Linked DNA regions of Homo sapiens: all the other regions are linked to region 1. Evidence: promoter capture Hi-C in human tissues and cell types (Jung and others, 2019). All regions are on one chromosome and are shown on one strand. The core of a region is centred on a gene start or on the middle of the fragment in contact, and the rest is flanking DNA. Distances in the headings are between cores, read along the strand shown.

Region 1 (2,700 bases), core at 160-2,659:
GCAGCCTCAAGCGGTTGTCTTACCAGAGTGGGGATGTCCCTCTGATCTTTGCCCTGGTGGATCATGGTGACATCTCCTTCTACAGCTTCAGGGACTTCACGTTGCCCCAGGATGTGGGGCACTGACCTCACAGCTCTGCAGAGGATGGAGCTTGCTCCGGGGGACCGGGACTGTCTGTTCTCAGGGACCATCTCGGCTGCCTCCTGTACCCAGACTCTAACCTGTAGCTTCAGAGGCCAGTCTGGGCCTTGGCCCTGGGTGTCTGATACTCACAGAGTGAAACTGTGACCCTCTCCCTTCCCTGCTGCCTTGCAGTGACCCCTCTGGAACTCAGGACTCGATTTTAAGGACCCAGGAGGTGGGGCAGAAGAGAGGACTGTGTGCCTTTAACGAGAGGGTGCCTGCTTCGTGCTATAAAGCCAAAGCCATTAAAAATAGATTTCTTTTCTGCTGTTTCTGTATGTACTGGGTAAACCCCTCTCGCCCCCGTCCCGTTGTCAGTGGAACTGCCCCCAGCCCCTCACCCCTGCTTTGCCCACTCAAGGAGATCCGCTTCCTCTGGTGCGGGATCTAAGAGTGAGAGAAGCCCGCGGGATAGCAGGAACGCGACCTCGAACCTTTTGAGCCTTTCCCGGGCCTGCGTCGGAGGGGATGGGACGTCGCAGGCTTCCCGAAGGGAGGAGGGAGGACGGCGCGCCATCGGCCCTTCCCTGGGCGCAGCGGGGTGCGGGTGGCGAGAGGCGCCACCTGCAGCTGGGCGGTGGAGCGCGCTGCAGCCCCGGCCTCCGCGCCCTTTCCGCTCCCGCCTCTCGTCGCTCCAACCTCCTCCCTCGCTTGTGCTAAAAATTCCACCCGCTGTTGCAGACCCTCCGGCCGACACGGAGGAGGTGGGCGCCCCCCCGCACCCCCCCCCGAGGAAAGGCGTCTCGCCGCGACGCCCCGGTCCCTACACCATCCCTCTCGTGGGGCTGGAAACCCGGCCCTGCGTCCCCCGGTCACCCTCTCTGGGCTGGGCTCTGGCAGAGGAGCTGGCCCGGATCCGCCCCTCCCTCGGCAGCTCCCGGGAGTTGGAGGGACGGCTCCCCTGGAGTCTGGGAGGCGGCCCGGGACCGCAGGCGTTCCGGGAACTATTTCCGCTTGCGGGAGGCGGCGGGACACTGGGCGCGGCGCGCCGTTCTGCGTCCAGGTGCGCGCAGGTGAGGCCGGGGCGGGCCTGCGGAACCCCGAGGCCGTTCGCGAGGCCCCGCCCCGCGCTTCCCGGGGCCGCGGATTGGCAGGAGCGCAGCCCCCACCCCCGAGGGTGCCCCCGCCCCTGCGGCGCCGAGCTGGGGGGCGGGCCGGGGGCGGGGCGCTGGGCCCCGGCAGGCTCGCCCTTTATGTAAATAGCGCGGCTCCGCCCCAGGCTCGCCGCGCCGGAGGTGAGCAGGAAGGAGACGGCCGCCCAGCAGCCCGTGGGCAGGCGCGGCGGAGCGAGCGGGGCCGGCGGCGGGCGCCGAGGGACGCCGAGGCCTCGGGCGGGGGCTGGCCCGGGGTTCCAGGTGAGATGCGTGCCGGACTCGCCCAGCCGGGCCCGCCCCCTCGGGGCTTCCACCTGGGGCGGGGAGGCCAGGGAGGCCCAGGACCCCTGGGCTGTCGGGCCAGGGCGGGAGGGCTGCGCCCAGGTCCGCGCGCCTCGCCCCTGTCCGCGTCGCTGTGCTGGCCTGGAAGAGAGACACCTGTAGAAAGTTCTGCGGGAAACTTCTCTGCCTGATCTGCGCGATGACTGAAACTTGGGCTTGGGTTTGCACAATAATGTTGGCTTAGGAGAGCAGGAGAACAGGTGCCCCGGCCGGCTGGGTGCGGGGGGCACCGCGGGCAGAGACGGAGTCCCCGGGCCCACGTGCAGGCGCCAGGCCAGCGGGGTTGGCGACGCGCGTCTGCGGTGACCCCCTCCCCACGGGCGGCGGCCGGAGCGCGGTGCCCCGGCGGCTTAGCCCCTGCCCCTGCCATCTGGGCTGTGTCCCTGCCGGCCCTTTGTGCCTCCTAATCCCCGGACGCAGGAAGCCCGCGGGAGGGACTTCGGTCTCCGGCCTTTCTCCAGCTGGGGCGGCTTTGGACACCTTCACATGACAGTGCGGAGACCCAGTCTGCCCTCCATGCTGACGGGCGGGGTTTGCGCTGTGGGATTTGGCGAGAAGTGGAAAATTCTATCTTGCCAAAGAAAGTGTGTCTTAGTTTGTTCCGGCTGGACGATTGGTGGACACGCTGGGCCTTGGCTGTGGGGAGAACTGACCTAACCAGGGGAGCTGTAGAGTGGCGCTTTGAGGCTCTCACCTGAACAGGTGAGCTTTGAGTGAGGAGGGCGCCCCTTCCCCTGGGGATCCGTATGCGACTGCCGGCAGCCTTAACCTGGGCTCCAGGGACCCCCTGCTGGAGTTTGTAGTTCAAGAGAACCTTGAGTTCTCTTGAAGGGGCTACAGAGAGGATTCTGAGCAGGGAGCGGGCAGGGAGGGAATGGGTGTGTCAAGGTGACAAGGAAACGCTGGTAGGAAGAGCAGAGCTGCCACAGAAGAGCTGTGGCCCAGCCCGGGGGAAGCCAAGGTCAGAAGTGGCAGTTGAGGCTGGGTGCATTGGCTCACAGCTGTAATCCCAGCACTTTGGGAAGCCAAGGCAGGAGGATCGCCTGAGCCCAGGAGTTTGAGACCAGCCTGGGCAACATAG
Region 2 (2,700 bases), core at 150-2,649, 170 kb before region 1:
CAGGACCCCTGCATATACCCAAATCTGTGCATACTCAAGTCCCACAGTTGGCCCTCTGCGTAAGTGGGCTGTGCATCCTGTGAATACTGTCTTTTTGACACACATGTAGACTGAAAAAAATCCGTGTATAAGCGGAACCATGCAGCTCAAACCTCTGTTGCTCAAGGGTCAACTGTACTTCCTTTACTGGTTGGGCTTCTGTATTTCCTCGAGTTTCTATGCCCTTAAAAAAAAAACCATTTTTACCGGGCGCGGTGGCTCACACCTGTAATTCCAGCACTTTGGGAGGCCAAGGCAGGCAGATCATGAGGTCAGGGGTTCAAGACCAGCCTGACAACACGGTGAAACCCCGCCTCTACTAAAAACACAAAAATTCGCCAGGTGTGGTGGCACATGCCTGTAATCCCAGCTACTCAGGAGGCTGAGGCAGGAGAATCGCTTGAACCTGGGAGGCAGAGGTTGCAGTGAGCCGAGACTGCGCCACTGCACTCCAGCCTGGGCAACAACAAAAAAAATTCTGGCCAGGTACAGTGGCTCATGCCTGTAATCCCAGCACTTTGGGAGGCCGAGGCAGGCGGATCATCTGAGGTCAGGAGTTCAAGACCAGCCTGGCCAACATGGAGAAACTCCGTCTCTACTAAAAATACAAAAAATTAGCCAAGCATGGTGGTGCATGCCTGTAATCCCAGCTACTTGGGAGGCTGAGGCAGGAGAATTGCTTGGACCCGGGAGGCGGAGGTTGCAGTGAGCCGAGATCACACCACTGTACTCCAGCCTGGGTGACAGAGCGAGACTCTGTCTCAAAAAAAAAACAAAAACGAAAGGGTGCGTGAGGGGCAAATGTTTTGAGTCCTTGCATGTCTGGAAATGTCTTGATTCTATGTTTATACTTGAAGGCTATTTCGGCTGGGTATAGATTTCAACAGAATCCTGGGCTGAACAGCATTTTCCCTCAGAACTTGGAAGAGACATTGTTTTCTGGTATTCAGAGTTGTACAAGCAAAGTTTATTCATGGTCTTTTTTTTTGGGGGGGGGGGGGAGATGGAGTTTCACTCTTGTCTCCCAGGCTGCAGTGCAATGGTGCGATCTCTGCTCACTGCAACAACCTCCACTTCCCATGTTCAAGCGATTCTCCTGCCTCAGCCTCCTGAGTAGCTGGGATTACAGGTGCCTGCCACCACAACCGGCTAATTTTTCTATTTTTAGTAGAGATGGGGTTTCACCACATTGCCAGTGCTTCTCGTAGGAACACAAACCCTACTGTAAACTGCTCACGCGAGGGATCTAGGTTGCCCGCTCCTTGTAAGAATCTAATGCCTGATGATCTGAGGTTGAACAGTCATCCTGAACCATCTCGACCCCCCACTTCCATGGAAAAATTGTCTTCCATGAAACCAGTCCCTGGTAGCAAAAAGGTTGGGGACTGCTGGATTCAAGAATTGCTGGAAGAGCCCACTGCAGTCTTCCAAAAGATGTGACAGCTATTATTCAAACTTCCAGAAAGAGAACAGTGAAAATAGAAGAAAAGACACTACGAAATGTTTTTTAAAAAGGAAAAACTTAACTTCTCATAGCTGATGAATATGAATTTTCAGATAGGAAGGGCGCACTGAGAACCCAGCCATAGTGAATAAAAACAGATCTATGGCCGGGCACAGTTCATGCTTGTAATCTCAGCACTTCGGGAGTCTCCCAAGTAGTTGGGATTACAGGCACATGCCAACATGCCTGGCTAATTTTTGTATTTTTAGTAGAGACGGGGTTTCACCATGTAGGCCAGGTTGGTCTCGAACTCCTGACCTCAGGTGATCCACCTGCCTTGGCCTCCCAAAGTGCTGGGATTACAGGCGTGAGCCACCGCGCCTGGCCAGGACCTGTACTCGTACTTTTGTCCCTGTTCCTAGCAAAACAAAATTCTACGAAGGTGCTGAATCCCATCTCTTCTTGCCTGCTCAAGGACATTAACTCAGTTATTTTCCTTTCTTCTGCATCATCAATTTTAATTAAAATCTCTACTGGATTTTTCTAATCAACAAATAAAAATGCTGTCATTTCTCTCATCTCTGGGAGTGGGGTGAAAGCAGACTTCTTTTGACTCTACTGCCTCATCTCTCTGTTCCCCTTTAAATCAAAACTTTCTGGAACAGTTGTCTATACTCTCTGTCCCAGTTCTCTCCTCCTCCCCAAACATCTTGTTATAAAAGCTTTCAAGCATAAAGCAAAGTGAAAAGAATTTTACAGTGAATACATTTATCCATCACATAAATCGGGGATGTCCAATCTTTTGGCTTCCCTGGGCCATACTGGAAAAAAAAAAAGGTCTTAAGCCACACATAAAATACACTAACACTAATGATAGCTGATGAGCTTAAAAAAAAAAAAAAAAGCAAAAAAATCTCATAATGTTTTAAGAAAGCACAAATTTGTGTTGGGCCGCCTTCAAAGCCATCCTGGGCCACATGTGGCCTGCGGGCTGTGGGGCTGGACAAGTTTGACCTAAGTTATTTGCTCTGTCACATATCTATCCATCTATATACATCCCTCTCTCCTATTGATGTATCTTAATTTTCCTTTCTTCTTTTTTTTTTTTTTTTTTTTTTAAAGAGACAGAGTCTTGCTCTGTCGCCTAGGTTGGAGTGTGGAGTACAGTGGCGTGATCTCGGCTTACTGCAACCTTCGCCTCCCGAGTTCAAGCAATT
Region 3 (2,700 bases), core at 49-2,548, 180 kb after region 1:
TCTGGGCATGTGAGGTGGGGCGGTGGGCGGGGGGTGCCGGGCATGTGCAGAGACCTGGTGATGCCGGGAGGGATACAGTACTGTTTGGAAAGTTCTTTTAAGAGTGAAAAGCCCCTTTGGGTTCTTCTTAGACATCTCGCCCTACCCCAGATGGGCAGAGCAGAGTTCATTTCCAATGCCTCTTTTGTGTAGTGCCAAGCTCCTGTCCCCCAGGAGCTGACGGATGGCAAAAAGCTGTGGACACCCAGCTTTGCCTGGTCTTATTCTCTTCCCTCTCCCTCTCCAGATTGAGTTTGTGACGGGCACCAAAAAAGGCACCACGACCAACGCCACGTCCACCACCACTACCACTGCCAGCACAGCTGTTGCAGGTAGATTGCAGAGCTGCCCTGCCTCCTGCCACACACATGGAGCCAGGGTCTCCCTGGCTTGTTTGGGCGACAGACAGCACGTGGATCTGGGCCTGGGCTCAGCCTTGCTACTTTGAGAAGCACCTTTGGAGTCTGGGGTGGGCCACTTCGGGGTCTGCTCCCTAGACTCCCGCTGGCCTGCAGGGGGAAGGGAAAGAGGGCACCGCTCATTGGTGGATCGTGATCCTGATTTCTGCTTTATCTCCAGATGCTCAGAAGAGAAAGAGCAAGTGGGATTCGGCTATCCCAGTGACAACGATAGCCCAGCCCACCATCCTCACCACCACAGCCACCCTGCCAGCTGTTGTCACGGTCACCACCAGCGCCAGCGGCTCCAAGACCACCGTCATCTCTGCTGTGGGCACCATTGTGAAGAAGGCCAAGCAGTGACCTGAGGGGCCACCCTAGGACTTGAAAGGACCGTGCAGCCCAGTGACCACTGCCCAGTGGGAGGCGCCACTTTGTATATTTCAGGACTGGGACCTACTCCCCAGATGCCACCTGAGAGGAGCTTCTGTTTGGCATTCCAGATGGAAGGACAGGCAGCACGGGAGCCAGGCGCTGTGGACAGGGTCTGTCCACGCACCACCTGGGGTCTGCCGCCTATTAAAAGTGCCGTATTCTTACCTCTTGGCATCTCAGATGCACTGGCCTCTCCTGCATTCTGTTTGCAGGCAAATGCTTCAGCTCACATGTCCCCCAAGACTCAATAGTCTTGGTTGGGACTATTGCCTCAGGGTTGACAACAGGGTGATGGAGGCCTGGGACGCTGTTCAGAGGGGTGACCCAAGAAGTCACCGTTGTTATCCGTGTATGCCTCTGGGCATGGACAGGCGGGAGTCCCCGAGCCCCACGTATGCCCCATCTGCCGCCTTGATCCCAAAACCCAGCCAGTTCTCGGGTGATGGTGGAGCTGTGCTCCCTTGAGTGCACTTGAGCACTCCCCAGACCAGATCACTTTTTGGACACACCCAGGAAGGCTTTTGAAGTCAAGCCAGTTTCCAGAAGGGCTGGGGTGAGATCCTGACCTGTGCAGAGAGTGGGGAGGCGTCAGCGCCTGGCCAGGGCTGCCCCAGTCCTTTGGTGCCCGGTGAGCGCAGCCAGCAGGAGCTGAGCAGCGGGGGAGATGAATCACCTCCTGCCTTGGCGAGGCGGCAGCTCATTGTTTACAGGCAAGCCCTGCTCCTGGGAGGGCTCCTGCCACCCCACCCTTCCTCTGTGTGTTATCTCTGCCCCACAGCAGCCCCTGGGCAGCACCAGTGGCCACTGGGCTCCCCCCGGGGTTGAAACGGGTTTCCCAGACCAGGGGTTCAGAGGAGACTATTTACCCTTCATGATCTTTGGCGATTCTCCACTGGAGCGGAAGGGCTGTGTGTCAAAAGAAGGAAGCCAGGCTGTGAAGGGCCGTGTTGCTTTCAGTGGGTGGGCAGAGGTTTAGAAAGGTGGTTCTGAAATGGCACCTGGTACTCTTGTGGGACCTGGGGAATATAAGGAACTCTGTGCATGAGGTTTCAAAAATAAAAATTGAGTCCACTCTCCCCGTACACACACACTCGGGCACTTCAGGAGGTCAGTTCTCACCCCTTCCTCGATGGGGCTTTAAAGCTCTGGGGAGAAGAGCTGCTCCCCACTCATGCCCCAGAGGGACTGTGAAAAGGCTTCCTGTGACCTCCGATGGCGGCCCCTCATTGGCCAAGGGCACTGTGGATGTTTTGTGGGAGGCAGCATGGCACCGTGGAAAGGGCAGTAGACGTGGAGCCGGCACCTCTGGTCTGGATTCCACTTAAAACCAGTTGAGTGGTCTCAAGCCCTTAACCTCTGTAAGCCTGTTTCTTCTCTGAAATCACAGTAATAAAGCGTCGTAAGATGGTTGGGAAGAACCAGAGGTGACTTATGCAAAAGCTTTATAAACTGTAAAGTTCCTGCCAGTGTTTTTTGTTGGCTAAATCCAATTTTTTTTTGTTGTAGACCAAGGAGAGAAGCAAACTCCTGGCCTGTCCCCCGTCTCGTGCTCTGTCGGCGGGGTAGGGTTTGGCAGGTCTTTCCCCTCCCCGCTTTCCTCTGGGCAGCCCTGGCGCTGCCATTCATCTGTCCAGTTAAAGCAGTAATGACTGTCTCCTGCGGGGCCGCAGAGGTAGGGGGCCTGGAGAATGAACATAGGCTTAGAAGTTGGGCAACCCCAGGCCAAAACTGCTGCCCCACTTACCAGCCTCGTGAGTTGGGTCAAGGTTTTTAATCCTTCTAGACTTTCATTTACTCTTCTATAAAATGGTGCTTGCCCACCTTAGTC
Region 4 (2,700 bases), core at 96-2,595, 150 kb before region 1:
ATCACTTGAGGTCAGGGGTTCAAGACCAGTCTGGGCAACATGGTGAAACCGTCTCCACCAAAAAAAAAAAAAAAAAAATTAGCCGGGTGTGGGGGTGCATGCCTGTAGTCCCCAGCTACTCAGGAGGCCGAGACAGGATAATTGCTTGAACCAGAGAGGCAGAGGCTGCAGTGAGCCAAGATCGTGCCACTGCACTCCAGCCTGGGCAACAGAGACTCCGTCTCAAAAAAAAAAAACTGTTTTTGACTATGGCTGATGGTATTTAAGAACTTACTGACTCTGATGCAAATGTACCTACCACTACCAGAAAAACAACTCAAAGCATATATATGTTCCTTTGCTTGAAGGATGGCATTACTTACTCAAAACATGGACCATCACAGTACTAAGAGACAGGGACACTCAATGAATGAATGCTTAAAAGTGATGCTCAGACTGACTCTCGAGGTAATGGCTAAAGCCAGGGCCCATGAGAAATGTAAATTCATTATTTTGTGGATATCATATGGTTAGCTGTTAACAGAGGTCATTGATGCAACGTTCAAGCTCCAAGGCTGCCACTAATATTCATACACCCCAAAAGCTGGCTACTATGGGCAAATTTAAAAAGATATTGGTGCCTTGTTGACTGAAACCCACTATTCCAGGCCTGGAAGAACTGAAATGTCAGTTGATGAAAAAAATTTTCAGAAGTGTGTCAAATCTGTCCGCATGAATTTCAATACGAAGGCTTTCCAAACTCTGACTAAGAGAGAATTTGTACCACTTGTTCCTTCTGACTTCAATATCTTGTTCGGTTTGGATACCTTCCAGGCTGGTACAGCTATGTTTGGCACCACAAAGCATGCCAGCCAGCCCTAGCTGTGTTGCTAATAAGAGGTCAGAACGCGTCCCTGGAAATACAGAGACACAATTAAGACTTCAAACAGCTGTTTGTTAAGCCAAGTGTTCTGGCAAAGCTTGAAAAATAGAAAACCTTCCCCTCAATCCAGCTCACTTTTTTAGCAGCAAAGTAAACTCAAGAGAGCCATCTGATGCGAAGGGACTCTTCTTCCCAGGAGGACTTCAGTCCTCTGCAAAGCTGTTCTTTGGCACTTTCCCTAGGGCTATGGGTTGTGTAAACTATGTAAATTAGAACGAATCTTCACAGTTCCTTCAAACTCTCCCTGTGAGTTTTATTCTTGTTTTTTATACATCCAAAGAATAAAGAACAAATTCAGGTGGGAAAGCCAATGTGTTCGACACCTCCTTTCATAGTTGATCTTTCTTACCCATGTTTGGACAATCTACTAAAATATAATGCCACCACGATGTTGGATGGAACAAATGTCCAAAAACAAAAACTAGTGGAAACTTGGAATGTTTATTGGGCAGTGACTTTAAGAAATAAAAGTGAGGCCAAGTGTGGTGGCCCATGCCTGTAATCCCAGCACTTTGGGAGGCCAAGGTGGGAGGACTGCTTGAGTCCAGGAGTCCGAGACCAGTCTGGGCAACATGGCAAGACCTAATCAATACAAAAATAAAACATAAAAATAAAAAATAACACTGATTAAGTATTCTTTAGATCGTAAGCACAGTAAAGTGTAATTATACTTTACAAAGACTCAAGAAAAAAGTAGTTAAGAAATCTAACCAAGGTGCTGGCAAGGAAAATAAAGGAATAAAAAAAAAAAAATTCAAGGGTTTCTATTTCTGGTCTGTTGCCTAAATAAAGGCAAAAGAGCTGCCGCAACGTAAGAACCAAGCCTGAACTCAGGCAGGACAACATTGAGTGACACAAAGAGGATATCAACTATAGACTCAGTTCACACTGAGTAGGATGAACATGGTGTGAATTTCCTCCCTTCTTGCCTCCAACACATTAAACTATGTTGCTAGGCAACTGTGCAAGATGCTGATAGAGGAACCTACTGTGAAATGGAGTAACAAAAGCACACTGTGGCAAGAGGTACACAATGGTGCTCGGGGCAGCAAAGGGGAACCCGAGGGAAAAGAAGAACACCCAGAAAACCTTCTGGAGATTGGGTCTGTTCTAAGCAACGAGAGGTGGCCAAGGCACGTAAATGCTAAAGGTTACACCACACAAAAGGAACAACATGACTGAAGACCAGAAATACGAGATAGCCCAGTGGTCAGGGAAAACAAGCAACTAACTGAAAATTGACAAAATTTTGTTTAAATATAGAAAGTAAGATCACCCAACCCATTATTTCTGACATTACTGGCAAAAGCGTTGACCAATGGAACACTGTAGAGCTTTCTGGAGGAGGATAGTAAATTATGCAAAACTGTGGTGCAAGTTAACACACAGAATTAAAATGAGTATCTACAATAAGAGTAAGACTTTGCCGAAGATTATTTGCGTAAAACACAGTTCTGAAAAGAAAACACAATAATTATGGTTTTGCTGAATTCAAAGAAATGCTGCCTCTGCTCTCTGGATATGTCTCAGATGCTGCTGTCTGCACATTTAGCTCGAGACCACATTACACATCCAATGACACAAGGCACCCAAATTAAAAGAGAAAGCACTAGACTCAAGAACATCTTACAGGCCACCCCCGAGCAGTGAGCCTAAGAGAACTCTTATTTCCACTAGTGAAGATGCAGAACAAAGTACAACAGGTCCCCAGTATCTATCTGCCTCTGCACAGGCTGGAGGTGGAAAAGGTGAAGAAGGGGTTTGGGAAATAAAGGTTC

The links. Contacts are between HindIII fragments. The study calls those that stand out against the background at their distance.
Region 2: a contact is called between a fragment that was not itself captured here and the fragment with the promoter of LLGL2 in region 1, in 1 of the 25 tissues and cell types used here (mesenchymal stem cells).
Region 3: a fragment that was not itself captured here is called in contact with the fragment with the promoter of LLGL2 in region 1 in 1 of the 25 tissues and cell types used here (lymphoblastoid cells).
Region 4: a fragment that was not itself captured here is called in contact with the fragment with the promoter of LLGL2 in region 1 in 1 of the 25 tissues and cell types used here (dorsolateral prefrontal cortex).

What each region holds. Positions count from the first base shown.
Region 1 is chr17:75,524,288-75,526,987 of GRCh38, forward strand. LLGL2 (LLGL scribble cell polarity complex component 2) reads left to right here and starts at 1,410. Exons shown (of 26, transcript NM_001031803.2): 1 at 1,410-1,538. It overlaps TSEN54 (tRNA splicing endonuclease subunit 54), which reads left to right. Exons shown (of 11, transcript NM_207346.3): 11 at 1-448. The coding sequence ends at 125. RefSeq lists silencers at 776-875, 896-1,615, 932-1,116. The HindIII fragment of the contact is 8,139 bases long and covers 1-2,700 here.
Region 2 is chr17:75,353,238-75,355,937 of GRCh38, forward strand. All of the region lies in intron 2 of GRB2 (growth factor receptor bound protein 2), which reads right to left. Among named protein-coding and RNA genes, the nearest start is that of GRB2, 51 kb to the right of the region's middle. The HindIII fragment of the contact is 7,881 bases long and covers 1-2,700 here.
Region 3 is chr17:75,705,722-75,708,421 of GRCh38, forward strand. SAP30BP (SAP30 binding protein) reads left to right here. Exons shown (of 11, transcript NM_013260.8): 10 at 287-371; 11 at 619-2,338. The coding sequence ends at 800. Among named protein-coding and RNA genes, the nearest start is that of ITGB4, 14 kb to the right of the region's middle. RefSeq lists an enhancer at 670-1,869. The HindIII fragment of the contact is 8,365 bases long and covers 1-2,700 here.
Region 4 is chr17:75,369,632-75,372,331 of GRCh38, forward strand. The region is part of intron 2 of GRB2 (growth factor receptor bound protein 2); the gene reads right to left. Among named protein-coding and RNA genes, the nearest start is that of GRB2, 35 kb to the right of the region's middle. The HindIII fragment of the contact is 4,452 bases long and covers 1-2,700 here.